Regions from separate parts of the Homo sapiens genome. Here region 2 is linked to region 1. The links are contacts of gene promoters, found by promoter capture Hi-C in blood cells and fetal thymus (Javierre and others, 2016). All regions are on one chromosome and are shown on one strand. Each heading gives the region's core, a stretch centred on a gene start or on the middle of the fragment in contact. The rest is flanking DNA. Distances are from core to core; before and after follow the strand shown.

Region 1 (6,807 bases), core at 3,277-5,776:
GCTATTATTAAAAGTCAAAAAATAACAGATGCTGATGAGGTTGCAGAGAAAAGGGGAGGCTGATACACTGTTGGTGGGAATGTAAATTAGTTCAGCCACTGTGGAAAGCAGTGTGGTGACTCCTCAAAGAGCTAAAAACAGAACTACCATTGGACCCAGCAATCCCATTACTGGGTATATATCCAAAGAAATATACATTGTTTTATCATAAAGACACATGCATGTATATGTTCACTGTAACACTATTCACAAGGGCAAAGACATGGAATCAACCTAAATGTTCATCAATGGGAAGACTCGATTTTTTAAAAATATGCTACATATGTACCATGGAATACTATGCAGCCATAAAAAAAGAATGATGTCATGTCCTTTGCAGGAACATGGATGGGGCTGGAGGCCATCATCCTTAATAAATAATGCAGGAACAGAAAACCAAATACCACACATTCTCACTTATAAGTGGAAGCTAAATGATGAGAACACATGGACACAAAGAGGGGAACAACAGACACTGGGACCTACCAGATGGTGGAGGATGAGAGGAGGGAGAAGAGCAGAAAAAATAACTATTGGGCACTAGGCTTAGTCCCTGAGTGACAAAATAATCCGTACATCAAACACACATGACACAAGTTTACCTATATAACAAACCTGCACATGCTCCCCTGAACCTAAAAGTTTAAAAAGAAAAAAAAATACATATATATTTATATATAATATATATTTTATATAATGTATTATATATATTTATATAATATATTTTATATTTTATATATAATATATATTTTATGTATATATATATACATATAATCCCTTTAGACTTACACCGGTATCACAAAAGATTCTCCATGACAAAGCTTTCAGCAAGTTAAAAAAGAGAAATACTACATCCCAGTGAAAAGTGTTGGGGGGGAATAATACCTTTTAAAAAATAAACACACTGATAGAGTCATCCATTTTAACAAAGTTTTAGTAGTTTGTCTTCAGAAGTAACTTCCAAGTTAAACATACTACATTGGGAGTCTCAACTTTGGACATCAGAAAACCAGGACAGCTACAACACGAATATTTATTTTGGCAACAATAAATCAAGTTATTCTGTGTCCTCTAAGAGTTAAGAGTCAGGAATAACAACTTCTGGAAGGATATTTAAATATGGAGAATTTCCTTAGAATATCTTTGAATCTAAATATTACCATGACATCTTTTCATCTCCAAACTTAAATGTGAGGTTCCAATGGGAACTACATTTTTATGCCTTTGAATTAACCACCAATAGTGCAATTCTAATTTACCTTATCATCATACTTGGTAAACTGTTGCTATGAAAATAACATTTAATAAGTTAACTCTCTTACCTGGTAAAATAAAGTTAACTTCAAAAGTTACCAGGATAAGTCGTACTAGCATTCAAATAAAAAATAACATGCAAACAAGCATTCCATGAAATGGATGTGAATCAGGTCTGAAAAATAATATTGCGGCATTCTGAAATTTACATTTTCCCTTTCCTCCTTTCCATATGCTTTCAGGTTCATGCATCAAATATTAAAAACAAAAGTTCAATCAAAAAATTAATTTGATAGCTGCTGCTTTTTTAAGTTGCAGGGGGTGCAGGGAGGCTCTCCATATCTTGCATTAAACATAAAAACCTATGTGCCCACGCCATACTTGCAACAGCAACCTACGTCTGTAATTTACACCCTATTTTATGGTATCCAAAAAGTTAAGAGTATGATCTACAGCTTCTTTTCAAACATGTTTACAAGAAGAAGTATCTCATATAAACCATCCATTTTAATGTGACTCTAAAATCCCATGCCCAAAAGCCAATGACCAGTTTATAAGCAAGGTAATGACTAGTTCAATGGAAAATATATTTTGACAATAAACTAAGTAAGGCTGACTTATCATGTTATGATCTGCTTGCCTAATATGTATGTTTAGCTACTGTAGTCAGCAATGCCCAAATATAAAGTTGAAACATTTAATGGCCAGTTCTGTTCTAGATTTCAAACTCATCTTACTTTTTTACAACAGTTTTAATCTAAGGTTCTCCACAAATACTTTTTTCTTAGAAAAGAGATCCCCTTGGGGCGGGGGGCGGGAGGCAGAGGGGGGGATTAAGGAACAAATTTTTCCATAAGTACAAAAAAAAAAAGACATGCCCAAACATCACAAATATTTCAACACATCTCTGCCTTAACATAAATTTTAAATAAGTAAATTTCAAAAAAGAAAAATCTCAAACAGGTTAAGCATTATAGTTCAGAAATAAAAGTCCTCTACACTTTATGAATGCAGCCATAAATACACCAAGAAATATTTCATTGACTTAAAACTAAATAACTGTATCTGGCTGGTAAAATTGCAATTACTGATAAGTGGCACGAAAGCATAAGATAATCAATAAAACTATGAAAACTTTTTTTACAAAAGGTCAGTCATATTTTGTTTACTTAAAATACTAAGTTTAATCATGACCTATCTAAACCTTATCATTGCTCATTGTATAAAATTAGCACTGCACTTGCAAACATAAGCAGAATCTAGACTTATCAAACATATGGTGAGACTTCACCAGCTTCTGAAAAATTAAATAATATAGGATTAAAATGTCTTAGTTGGGTAAGCAGTAACCACCGTTACGGCTCAAGACTTTTCATCAAAAATTTGATCAGAAAGGAAACCTCTTTAAAAATTTTAAAGAGCCCAGCAACTAAAACTTTGAAATTAACTGAGATGGTTTGAATGAATATAAGTACTCCCACTTCAGAAGCTACAGCTAAAAGCAAATACCTAAAATAGCAAAAAGGGAAAAAGTGTCAGCAGATCTCCAAACTACTAGAAAGTACGCAAAAGCACACGCAGACTGGTTTGCCAGCTAACTTTTCCGGCCCTGTACCAGACAGACATCAAAACAAAGTTTACAATAGAGCCAACCATGCGCTTTCCCTCTAAACTGGACGATAAACTGAAATTTTTTGCTGTTGCTAATAGAAGCCCCTTATTATAATTAGAAGCAGCCAACTGACAGGTGGAAAAACAAATTCCCTAACAGGGCAGTAAGAGGTTGTGAAAACACGGTTCAAGGCCTGAACGTGTTACGACTACTCTGTAACAAGTCCAAGGTAATTTACGCACACACTCTTCAGCGCAATTCCTCAAGCAGAGATGAGACGGGAACAACAGGATTCCCCGAGAGCCACATACCATTTTACAACAGCCGTCTCCCTCCCGACAGAGAAACAGACATTTTCATCCAAAGTCTTTCCGCCAGTTCTCCCAGTGCGGCGAAGGGAAGCGGGCGGCAGCCACCGTAACGAGAGAAGCCGGCAACAGCCCCGCCGCGCGGCCGCCACGCCTTCCTCCCGCCGCCGCTGGGGACGCGGAGCCGCGGATCACATTTCTCCTCCCCAACAATCACACACACGCACGCACGTCCCCAGAGTTGACACCCTGCAAACCCGCTGCTCCGCGACGCTGGGGACGGGGCCACAAAGCCCGGGACGCGGCCATCGGCTGGGGTGCTCAAGCTGCGTGCCTGCGCGTTTGTTTGTTCCCCTTAATGAAAGGAAAGGGATCTCCGTAGTTACGGCCTAGGACTGCGGAGGGGGAAGAGAGGCTCCCCGTGGGACTAAACAAAACTTCGGTTGCTGGGAAGAGCCGTTGCGCAACCTTGGCAGGGGGAGGGGGGGCCGAGGCCCCCGGGCCCCGGCCAGGCGCGGCTTCCCGGAGGCTACGGCCCCCGCGTCCGGCGGCCCAGGGCCTGGCGTGGCGCCGGCTTCGAGGGAGCGGCTCATACCGGGCCACACTGCAGGGGCTAGGGCGGAAACTGGGAGCACGAGAGCGCTGGGGATGCGGATGGGGCACGGGACGCGCAATGAGTGCGGGCTGCGCCGGAGGTGTCGGGCCAGGCCCGGGTCAGGCTTGGGGTCCGCTGGCCGCGGAGCCCGCAGACGGAGCCGATCCCCCCACCCCGGGGTGGCGGCGCCCCTCGCTCGACTCCCTTACCTTCCTAGAGGCCCGCGCTCTCTCCTCTTCGGGCGGCCGCAGCCCTGAGCATGTCCGGGGTGGGGCGCAGGGCCGTGCCGGGGACCGGGAGCCAGGCGCTTCAGCAGGCGGCACCACCCAGCCCGGGCTCAGCCCCTCTCCGCGGCCGCTGCCATCTTGTCCTGGCGGCTGAGAGGAAACGGCGAAACACCCTCCCCCGACCGCTGCTGCTGCTGCTGCTGCTCTGGCTGCTAAGCGCCGGGCCCGTCTCCCTCATCTTCCTTCCCGGGGATTTGGGGTGGGGACGGCTTGGCTAGGGCGAGGGGTAGTGGGAGGCCGGTCGGCCTCCGGCTACTGGGGCCTACGGGCGACGCAGGGTGCGGGGCCCACGGCGATTGGGGCCCATTCCTGACGCCCCGGCCGGGAGCGGAGAAGGAAGACTGGCGGGAGTGGTGGCGACGGCGGGGCCTGCGGCTTGATCTCCTCAGGTCGCCGCGATGCCGGCAGTCGTCACTGAGGCAGCTGCCACCAGCCGCCCCAGCCTCGGGCCCCTCCTCCGCGCTCGTCGGCCTCGGCCACCGCCTCCGCAGCGCCACCGCCCGCCCGGCAGCGCTGCGCGCCCAGCCCGGGCGGCTCCGCTCCGCTCCGGCCGCGGCGCCTCCGTGAAGCCCCTCCCCGGGGTCCGCCCGCCAGTCCGCAGCCGCGCCCTTGTTGCCCGGAGCCCGCCTGCCAGCCCGTGCGGCCCCAACCCGGAGTCCCGCAAGCCAAGCCTCCCGCGAAAGAAGCATCCGTCAGCCCGGCTCTGCTGTTCTGAACCTCACTCCATGCCCCCTCCGCCAGAAATACACATTTTTAAAAAAGATCCCAATACCCGAAGAAAGGATGAAGATGCGGAAGCAGGATTTTACAGGCCTTTCGAGATCCCGGAACCGTAATTAAGGATCTGTTTCTCGGCATTTGGTCGTTAAAGGTCCCAAAATAAGTAAAGGGGAAATGCTCAAATGAACGACCTCAATCTAAACTAGGTTCTACCCGCTCCCCTATCCCAAAGAGTGAAGAGAATTGTAAAGCCAGGTTCAAGGACGGGGGAAGGGTCCTCTTGGAAATTTTAAGAGCATCTCTACTGTCCAAAACCCCATAATTGTGAAGTTCGCCCACCTCCACATTGGTAATTCTCCGTTAAATTAGTCGGTTTAACTCCCAAAGACTAGTTTCTTTCCTCCTGGAGATTAGGAAATCAACAGAATGGCCTGTTTCAGCTTACATAATCGTGGAACCATAGAATTTTAGGAATGAAAGAAGCTTTGCGATCCTTGGTCCCAACTCTTACACTCAGGAGTTCCAAGAAGTTTAGGTGACATGACCAAGGTTATACAGTAAAGCCCATGTCTCCCACCCCATCTTTCCTCCTTTTCCCTAGGAAACAAATGGCTTTCTAATACCTCACATTCAGAGTTGATTTTCTTTTATACCCGTTTCCTCAGGTTCCCTTTGTTCTGAATCAATGTCTAACCTTTTGGGAAACAAACACCTTTCTGGAATGGAAGTGTCCTTTCTTTGTTTCCTTCATAATCTTCACTAGCAAGATTGAATTTACCAGAGATGTATTTATTCCCAGAAATTTTCTATTGCAGTAACTGGGGCAGGGCAAAGGGAGTGGCAAATTGCTGCATACATAATACACATTTAATCCCTGCTGCTCTTCAAACCGGAAGATGAGTATTTTGGATAATGCCTTTAAGAGACAAAGGAGGCCGGGCGCGGTGGCTCGCACATGTAATCCCAGCACTTTGGGAGGCTGAGGCGGGTGGATCACCTGTGGTCAGGAGTTCAAGACCAGCCTGGCCAACATAGTGAAACCTGGTCTCTACTAAAAATGCAAAAATTAGCTGGGCGTGGTGGCGGGCGCCTGTAATCCCAGCTACTCGAGAGCTGAGGTAAGAGAATCGCTTGAATCGCTTGAGCCACTGCACTCCAACCTGGGCGACAGGGAGAGACTCTGTCTCAAAAAATAAAATAAAAGAGAAAGGATAGTATGCCCTGAGGCCACTGGAAATAACACTTTCGAATGACAGTTGTTTTCAGGTTAGAGAGGATAACCAGCTGAAAAGGCTTCCAATATAGAAGAACAAAACAATGGCTGCCTTTCAGAGAGATAGCCTATGAACCATTCCTTTTCACTTAGTATTTCGTTACTTTTTATTTTTCTTAAGAACAATAGTCAAAAGAATCAAAGAGGATAAAATCATTTACTCAACGGAGAAAGCTACAATAGTAGAAAAATCTGTCAGGAGGAACAGAGAAACTATTCCACTAGAACTTCAAATTTCAGAATTTTTGCAGACATTTAAGGAGGCCATCTCTAATGGAAGGCTTCCATTCCCTGTATTTGCTACATCCATGAAGAGATGGAAATGAGAGACAAGGATTTATTTTCCTTTCTATCTCCTGCATGTTGCTACTCACTACACTATATATTCCAGGAGGGGATTCATTCATCTTTTTTTTTTTTTAGATGAAGTCTCGCTCTATTGCCAGGGTTCAAGCAATTCTCCTGCTTCAGCCTCCCGAATAGCTGAGACTACAGGCATGCCCCACCATACCCAGCTAATTTTTGTACTTTTAGCAGAGACGGGGTTTTACCATGTTGGCCAGGATGGTCTCGATCCCTTGACCTCGTGCTCTGTCCACCTCAGCCTCCCAAAGTGTTGGGATTACAGGCATGAGCCACCACGCCCGGCCTCATCTTTTTTTTTAACCATTATATTGCAAGTGCCTAATACAGTGCCTGACTTGTGGTAAGACCTTAGT
Region 2 (7,621 bases), core at 820-3,319, 1.2 Mb before region 1:
ACCTCTGCTAAAAATACAAAAATTAGCTGGGCGTGGTGGCACACGCCTGTAGTCTCAGCTACTCAGGTGGCTGAGGCGAGAGAATCACTTGAACCCAAGAGGCGGAGGTTGCAGTGAGCCAAGATTGTGCCACTGCACTCCAGCCTGGGTGACAGAGTGAGGCTTCATCTCAAAAAAATTAAAAATTAAAAAAAGTCACATATTAGGTGGAAGTTCTATCGACTATAATTACAGCTTAAATGAAAACACTTCTTAAAATCAGCCCTAGTTAAAAAATACTTGAAACCAAACCAATACAATTACCTAAAGGTAATTGCAAGTGATTGGTTAGGTAAACAAATTGGGTTCTAGGTTTTAATATTTTAGTCATATGAATTCATGGGTATTTTTATTGATATAAATAAAAATGTTATTTTAAAAATGCTGTTCTCTGAAGTCAATTTTCAGAACTCAATGAAAATAAAATATACTGGCACAAGACATACTGTTATTAATCCTGGTATCAACAAATTTGAAACCAAGCTTGCAAAGTAGACCATGTAACAAATGTTCAAGAAAAACATTTGAGTACTCAGCTAGGAATCTTTATAGACAAATTTTATTTCATCAGTATTGCAAGAAAAGAATGGAGAGAATGAACATCATGTGTTGTTGGATGACAGGCATACAAGACAGCACAAGGGGTAATTACTCTGTTCTGATTCCACCCATCCTCAGAGAGGCCGAGAATGTTCTACATATTTCAGTTTCATTCTCTTCACAGTGGCCTTGTGAGGTAAATTCAGAGTTAGGCAAAAAGGAAGAGAAAAGAACACAACAAGAAACAAAGAGAGTTACAATTCAGTATTGGCTGTTGGCTTTAAGAGAAGAGAATAAACATCACCACAGCTCCATGACTCCTGTTCACTGTGGAACAGGCTTGAGCAAGCCAAAGAAGAAGGTGGGATTTGCTTTAAAAAGTAGCAGTGGTGTTATATGCAGTAGCAGCACATACCTTCTGCTCTGCCTATTTGGCTGCACCATATCTTTCCCGCTTTAATATGAATAATTGCCTACTTGGGAGGAGGCAACCCAGATGTCCTCTGGTGTCTGGTGATGGCCATAGCATGAGCTATGCTAAGGAGAAGAACATGGATGTGCCTTTTCCCGCCTCGGCCTTACGTGCCACGCTACTGATCTGGTGTTTGCAAAAAAAGGAAACATAGGCCAGGCCTGGTGGCTCATGCCTGTAATCCCAGCACTTTGGGAGGCCAAGACAGGTGGATCTCTTGAGGTCAGGAGTTCAAGACCAGCCTGGTCAACATGGCAAAACCCTGTCTCTGCTAAAAATACAAAAATTAGCTGGGCGTGGTGGCTCTTGCCTGTAGTCCCAGCTGCACGTGAGGCTGAGGCAGGAGAATCGCTTGAACCCAGGTGGCAGAGGTTGCAGTGAGCCGGGGTCATGCCACTGCACTCCAGCCCGGGTGACAGAGCAAGACTCCGTCTCAAAAACAAAACAAAACAAAAAACAGAAGAAACATAGAAATAATAATTGGGAATTTGTTTTTACCTTCACTTTTTTTTCTTTTTTTTTTGAGACGAAGTCTCGCTCTGTCACCCAGGCTGGAGTGCAGCGGCAAGATCTCGGCTCACTGCAAGCTCTGCCTCTTGGGTTCATGCCATTCTCCTGCCTCAGCCTCCCGAGTAGCTGGGACTACAGGCGCCCGCCACCACACCCAGCTAATTTTTTTGTGTTTTTAGTAGAGACGGGGTTTCACCGTGTTAGCCAGGATGGTCTCGATCTCCTGACCTCGTGATCCACCCACCTCGGCCTCCCAAAGTGCTGGGATTACAGACGTGAGCCACCTCGCCCGGCCCTTAACTTATTTTTTATACTTACTAATGGAGGCTTGGAAAATGCAGGATAAAATATCAAACAATCATTCAAAGATTACGATAAACAGGTAACATTTTTACCAATATTTTCTCTCTTATATGTTTGTAAAGGAGTGTGTGTGTGTGTGTGAGAGAGAGTTTTACAATGGATCCTATAGAATACATAATCTTATATCCTGCTTTTTCCACCTAACATTATCAGATAAAACTTTTTCCAAGTCATTAAATCTTTTTCCAAAATGTGATATTTTTCTCCTATGCCTACACAATTTGCAATCAAAGGACTATTCCTTTATTTACATACTCCTTTACTGAGAACATTTAAATTGTTTTCTTCTATAACAGTACAGTGACATCCTTCCTCTACATTTGTATTTATTTCCTTAGGACCTGTTTTCAGAGGTCATTTTTGGTTCAAGTCATTTGAACTTTTTAAGGTTCTTGTGACATGTTGTTGATTGTTTTCTGCAATGCTCGAGCTAGTTTATACTGTCACAGGCACTGAGAGTGTGGATTGGAAGTGCAATTTTCAAGACAGGTGAATATCTGGATTCTGGATGTTCATCAATTGCATATTTCATCACATTCTTCTGAGAGAGAAGGCCTCTCATGTTATGTTCAGCCATAACCACTAACCCATGGGAGTCATCCAATATACTGGATGTCTGCTGTGTCCTGGGCCCCCTGCCTATTGGGCTCTGGGAGTACAACAGCAAAGGACGTGGACATAGACAAATAATCAGACAATAACACGGGGAAAAAGTGCTGAGAGAAGGGAAGGCCAGCTGTTATTAGGATTACCTAAGAAGGTCGCCTAACCTGAACCTGCTAAGTCATGGAGGCTTTGAGTAAAGCTGAGAAACTGAATAGGTGTCAGGCGTGGTGTCAGGAGTAAGCATTATATGATCCACCCTGCTACCGCAGAAATCCAGATTGTTAACCACTTTTCCCTAAAAGTCTGACTTCATTCATGGTGATATGGAGATGGCTTGAGTAGGACTCAGTAGCAAGCAAATATTTACAACAGGTGTTGAGCCTTTTTCAAGTTTGTGCAGGTCCACTGGCCTCTGAACTTGACTTTGACTAGCTTAAGCTCCTGCGGCTCACCCACATTCCCTCCTTGCCTCTGGGCTCCTGCAAGGCCTGGGTCAACCAGTCATGTTTAACTACTGGGATTCACATGCTTGGATTGAAGTTATTTTTCCAGTGCTGCTCTCTCAGAGGTATTTTGCTTGCCTCCCTTGTTTATGCTTTAAATGTTGCACCTGGGCTTGACCTTGGGTTTAAGTCTGTTTGCAGAAACCAGACATGGGTTCTTGTACTCTGACAATAAAAATAAAAAGTCAAACCTCATAGACAATCAACACATTCATTATGGACTGAGAGCACACACAATTATGCATCTGTGGAGAAATGAATAGTTATGAAGTATACATGTTTGGGTGGAACCATTGGTCATAGCTAGGAATGGTCAACTAGGGGGAACGGAACAGGTAGCTCTCTTCTCCCTTTCTTTACCATAAACCCAGATCATTACCTAGTAGGGCTCAAGAGAAAAAATAGCATGGTACATGGTTAACAGCCCCAGCGCTAGCATCAGAGCACTTGGGGTCAAATCCCACCATGGCCATTTACAAACTGTGTGAACTTGGGCAAGTCACTTAATTTTTCTAAGCTACCATGTTGCTTTTGTAAAATGGAGATAGTAACACCTTCTATATTAGGTATCACCCAAGCTTCTATAACAAAAAGAGCCTCCCAAAAAACCAACAAAATAGCATAGACAAGATCAAAGCTTATTTCTCTCACAATAAAGCATTTCAGACCTAAATGGTACAGGGCTGGTTAGGCAACTCTGCCATCCTCAATACATAGCTTCCATCTCTGAGTCCAATGTAGCTGCTCACTTGATCATAACTGCATGCCAGCCAGTGGGAAGGGGGACAAAGGAGCAAAGGGAGCCCATGTCCTTTCCTTTTTAGGGCACAATTTGGAAATAGCACACTTTATTTCTACTCACATTCCATTGGCCAGAATTTCGTCACATGGCTATGCCTAGCTATACAGGAAACCGGGAAATGTAGTCACTGGCTGGGTGGCCATGGGCTTGACAAAACTCAGGCATTCTATTATAAAAGAAAAGGGAAGTGAATATCGGTGGCTGATCAGCAGCACCGGCCACACTGACCTCCAAGGGTAGTTGGAGGTTTAGGGAAGATTATATGAACCATATGAGTTAGTTATCTGTATTATCTGATTATTAGTATTTCTATTTATTCTGGAGTGCCATGTAGCTCTTGTATGAGTTGCAACGCTGTTCAGAAAATACAGCAAACTTTGTTGTAGGATATACTATTATACTCATCCTTGCGGGATGTGCTGTAGTTCAGAGACTGCCTCTGGACACTGAAGTTTGGCTCCAAGGTCACATTATGATGAACAAAGGCCAACCACTGCCCTAAACCAAACCTTCCTATCCCACAAAACCATCCTTTCAAAACATATTTTGTTTAATTGACAAACACTTAATATTGCTCTTACTATGTCTAGGCTCTACACTGAGGGATTTTCCAATATTAACCCATCTAATCCTTATAACAATCCTATAAGAGGGAATGGACTCTTACTACCTTCACTTTACATCTGAGGGCACTAAGGTACAGAAAGGTTAAGTAACCTCCCGAAGTTACCCAGATAGTTTGCAATGGGGCCAGGATTCGAACGAGACAGTGTGGCTCTGGAGATCACATCTCCACTCCTACGTTGTTCTGCCTGTGACAAAGTGGGCAGGAATAAAGGAAGATCTTGAGTGAGTGTTCTACATTCTTAGAATTTAACTCCAGCATTGCACTACCCTCTGCCCACCTGAAGACGCGGTGTTACGGGAAGCACCCTGAGTAAAGCAATTGTGAAATCCATGTTTTGTACCCACATAGTTGAGAAGAACCACAAGAAAATGACATTCTTCTCAGTCTTTAAAAGACAAAAAATGGGAAGTTGTTATGGATTTGTAATATAAGAGCATGACAGGCCTAGAGAGCCACATGGGATTGAGGAACAGCCAAAGGCAGGAATGAGAGTGCTGGAGAAGAGGCAGCTTGCAGAGCAGCAAGGATGAAGGAGGAGGAGGAAGATCTCTAGCTGCCTCTCCTTCCTGACAGCAAAGGGCAGGCAGAGACTTAGCTAAACAAGTTCATTCAAAGAATCATTTTCCACCAAGCAAGAGGACCTGTTGCCCTGTATCATCTTATATGCAGCTCCTGTTCCAGGATACGTGGACATAAACAGATTCAGTTCTGAGACACTGTGACATGAAGCAAAATTCTCCTTCTTGTGTCAGATGTGGAAAGCAATTGCTCCAGGCAACCTGAAAATGAAGATCTATTTACTTCTTTTTTTTTAACTGAGAAAATAAAGAGAAACGTTATTTTATTTCCTTGTTTGTCCTCTATATAAATTCTGAAACAAATAAATCATGTCTAGTGCCTACCTGCCTCATCAGTGGGAACTGAACTTGCATTGATTCCAGAAAGACCAAACAAAGGACAGTCTCAATCTGCAGTGACATGATCCCATTTGTGACATTTAATGCAGTTCATATTTCTAACCTGAATATCAAAGGGCTAATTTTTTTTGTTTATGTGATCTTTGGCATATTTTTCTCATGGAGCTTCTTTCTGCCATTTAAATTTGTCTTCATTCTCTCCTGTTTTCTTTTTTCTCTGTTTCCTTTTTTAGCTCCTGGTGGGGCCTCACAAATGAAATTAAGGCCATTCTTTACACATTCATCTCCCATAAGCAATCTATTTTCATATGATTATTGTTCTTTAAGATACTGCTGCCTTCATTCTTCTTGTTTCTTCTTATCATATATTTTCTGTTCTGCCATTCATACTTTTTTTTTTTTTGAGATAAAAGTCTCACTCTCTCGCCCAAGCTGGAGTGCAGTGGCGCCATCTCCGCTCACTGCAACCTCCGTTCTCGGGTTCAAGTGATTCTCCTGTCTAGCCTCCTCAGTAGCTGGGACCACAGACACACGGCTAATTTTTGTATTTTTATAAGAGAGGAGGTTTCGTCATGTTGGCCAGGCTGGTCTCGAACTCCTGGCCTCAAGTGATCCGCCGGCCTCAGCCTCCCAAACTGCTGGGATTACAGGCATGAGCCACCACACCCGGCCCATTCATACTTTTTTGATACTGGATTTGGAGGCAAGATGAACATCCTTCTTGCACATGACATTGTCAGAGGATTTCCCCATCCTTGAGCCAGAGCTGGGGAAAGCAGTGGCTAGCTCTGTAAGCAACATAAACGAACTACTTAGCAAGCACTAGCTTAATTCTCTGAAACTTTGTACTGGGATTTTTCCCAATCCCATCCCACCCAATATTCTAAATGTCAATGAATAACAATCACCGTTGCCTTTCTCTTGTCTGGCTGGCCCCTGAGGTGTGAAACAACTTACTCGATGGGCAAATTATAGATGATACAATATTAGGATTTGTATCATCTTTCTCTTAATGCCCTTTTAAACTCTGCATCCTCAAAAGAAGCCAGAAGCCACGTGGCTCAGCTTGGGGGCCTGTAGTTTACCATGTTGTCTTCTCAGGAAGACCTTTCTTGACCACTTCTTTTAATCTTATAGCTTCCTCTGGCACTTCCTGTCATGCCTTCCCTGCTTTGTGTTTTCTCTGTGATCCTTCTCCCTTTTAACATACTATATAACCGATTTCATTTGTTTATTGGGTATTTCTCCTACTAGAATAGAAGTCCATGAGGATTGGTGGGTTTTGTTTCTGGTTTTGAATTTTCTGCTTATTCTTAGCACCTGCAACAGTTTTCTGGCACCCAGGATATTTGACTAAATGAATGAACAAGCAAGTGAATTAATAGATGAGGTAATACCGGGATAAACCATGTTACAAATAACCAGAGTAAGTGACAATTTGCCTTGAGGGATTTGAGGGAGAATTTGATCAGATGCCTGGCTCAAATACAGATACCCTCCCATTTCATTTTTAAATATATTTTCCTTTAGGACTTGAGTACTTTCCCATATTCTCAAAAAGAGTCCTCTTTTAAAAAATAGATATATTGCCGGGTGCAGTGGCTCATGCCTGTAATCCCAGCACTTTGGGAGGCTGAGGTGGGCAGATCACCTGAGGTCAGGAGTTCGAGACCAGCCTGATCAACATGGAGAAACCTCATCTCTACTAAAAGTACGAAATTAGCCAGGCATGGTGACATGCACCTGTAATCCCTGCTACTCGGGAGGCTGAGGCAGGAGAATCTCTTGAACCAGGGAGGTGGAGGTTTCAGTGAGCCAAGATCATGCCATTGCACTCCAGCCTGGGCAACAAGAGTGAAACTCTGTCTCAAAAAAAAAAAAATAGATATATTACCCCCATTATGAACCTTCTGACATGGTACACCAGGAAGGACTCAACATCGCTTCTGTGGCATTCCTATCAAAAATGCATACTCTGAATCTAATCATGAGGAAACATGAGACAAACTCCAACTGAGGAACAGTCTACAACTGGCCTTTTCAAAATATCAAGATCATGGAAGTTAAGGACTAAAGAACTGTTCCAGTTTAAAAAAGACTAAGGAGACATGCCAACTAAGTATGAAGAGTGTTCCTGGACTGGGTCTTGGAACAGACGGAAAAGACTTCAGAAACATTATGGAGACAATTTATGAAATTTAATATGGGCCATAAACTTAATATGAATAAGAATATTGTATC

Evidence for each region. Contacts are between HindIII fragments. The CHiCAGO score rates a contact against its expected background, and 5 or more counts as called.
Region 2: a contact is called between a fragment that was not itself captured here and the fragment with the promoter of HIPK3 in region 1, in 1 of 17 cell types (monocytes). The highest score is 6.3, in monocytes.

The regions. Positions count from the first base shown.
Region 1 is chr11:33,255,100-33,261,906 of GRCh38, reverse strand. It overlaps HIPK3 (homeodomain interacting protein kinase 3), which reads right to left and starts at 4,526. Exons shown (of 17, transcript NM_005734.5): 1 at 4,018-4,526. RefSeq lists enhancers at 3,052-3,141, 3,182-3,231 and silencers at 3,572-3,771, 3,842-4,181, 4,442-4,771. The HindIII fragment of the contact is 4,438 bases long and covers 863-5,300 here.
Region 2 is chr11:34,429,392-34,437,012 of GRCh38, reverse strand. LOC105376622 (a long non-coding RNA gene) reads right to left here and starts at 4,724. Exons shown (of 3, transcript XR_931180.3): 1 at 4,566-4,724; 2 at 3,896-4,001; 3 at 691-767. It also overlaps the pseudogene CIR1P3. The HindIII fragment of the contact is 3,089 bases long and covers 525-3,613 here.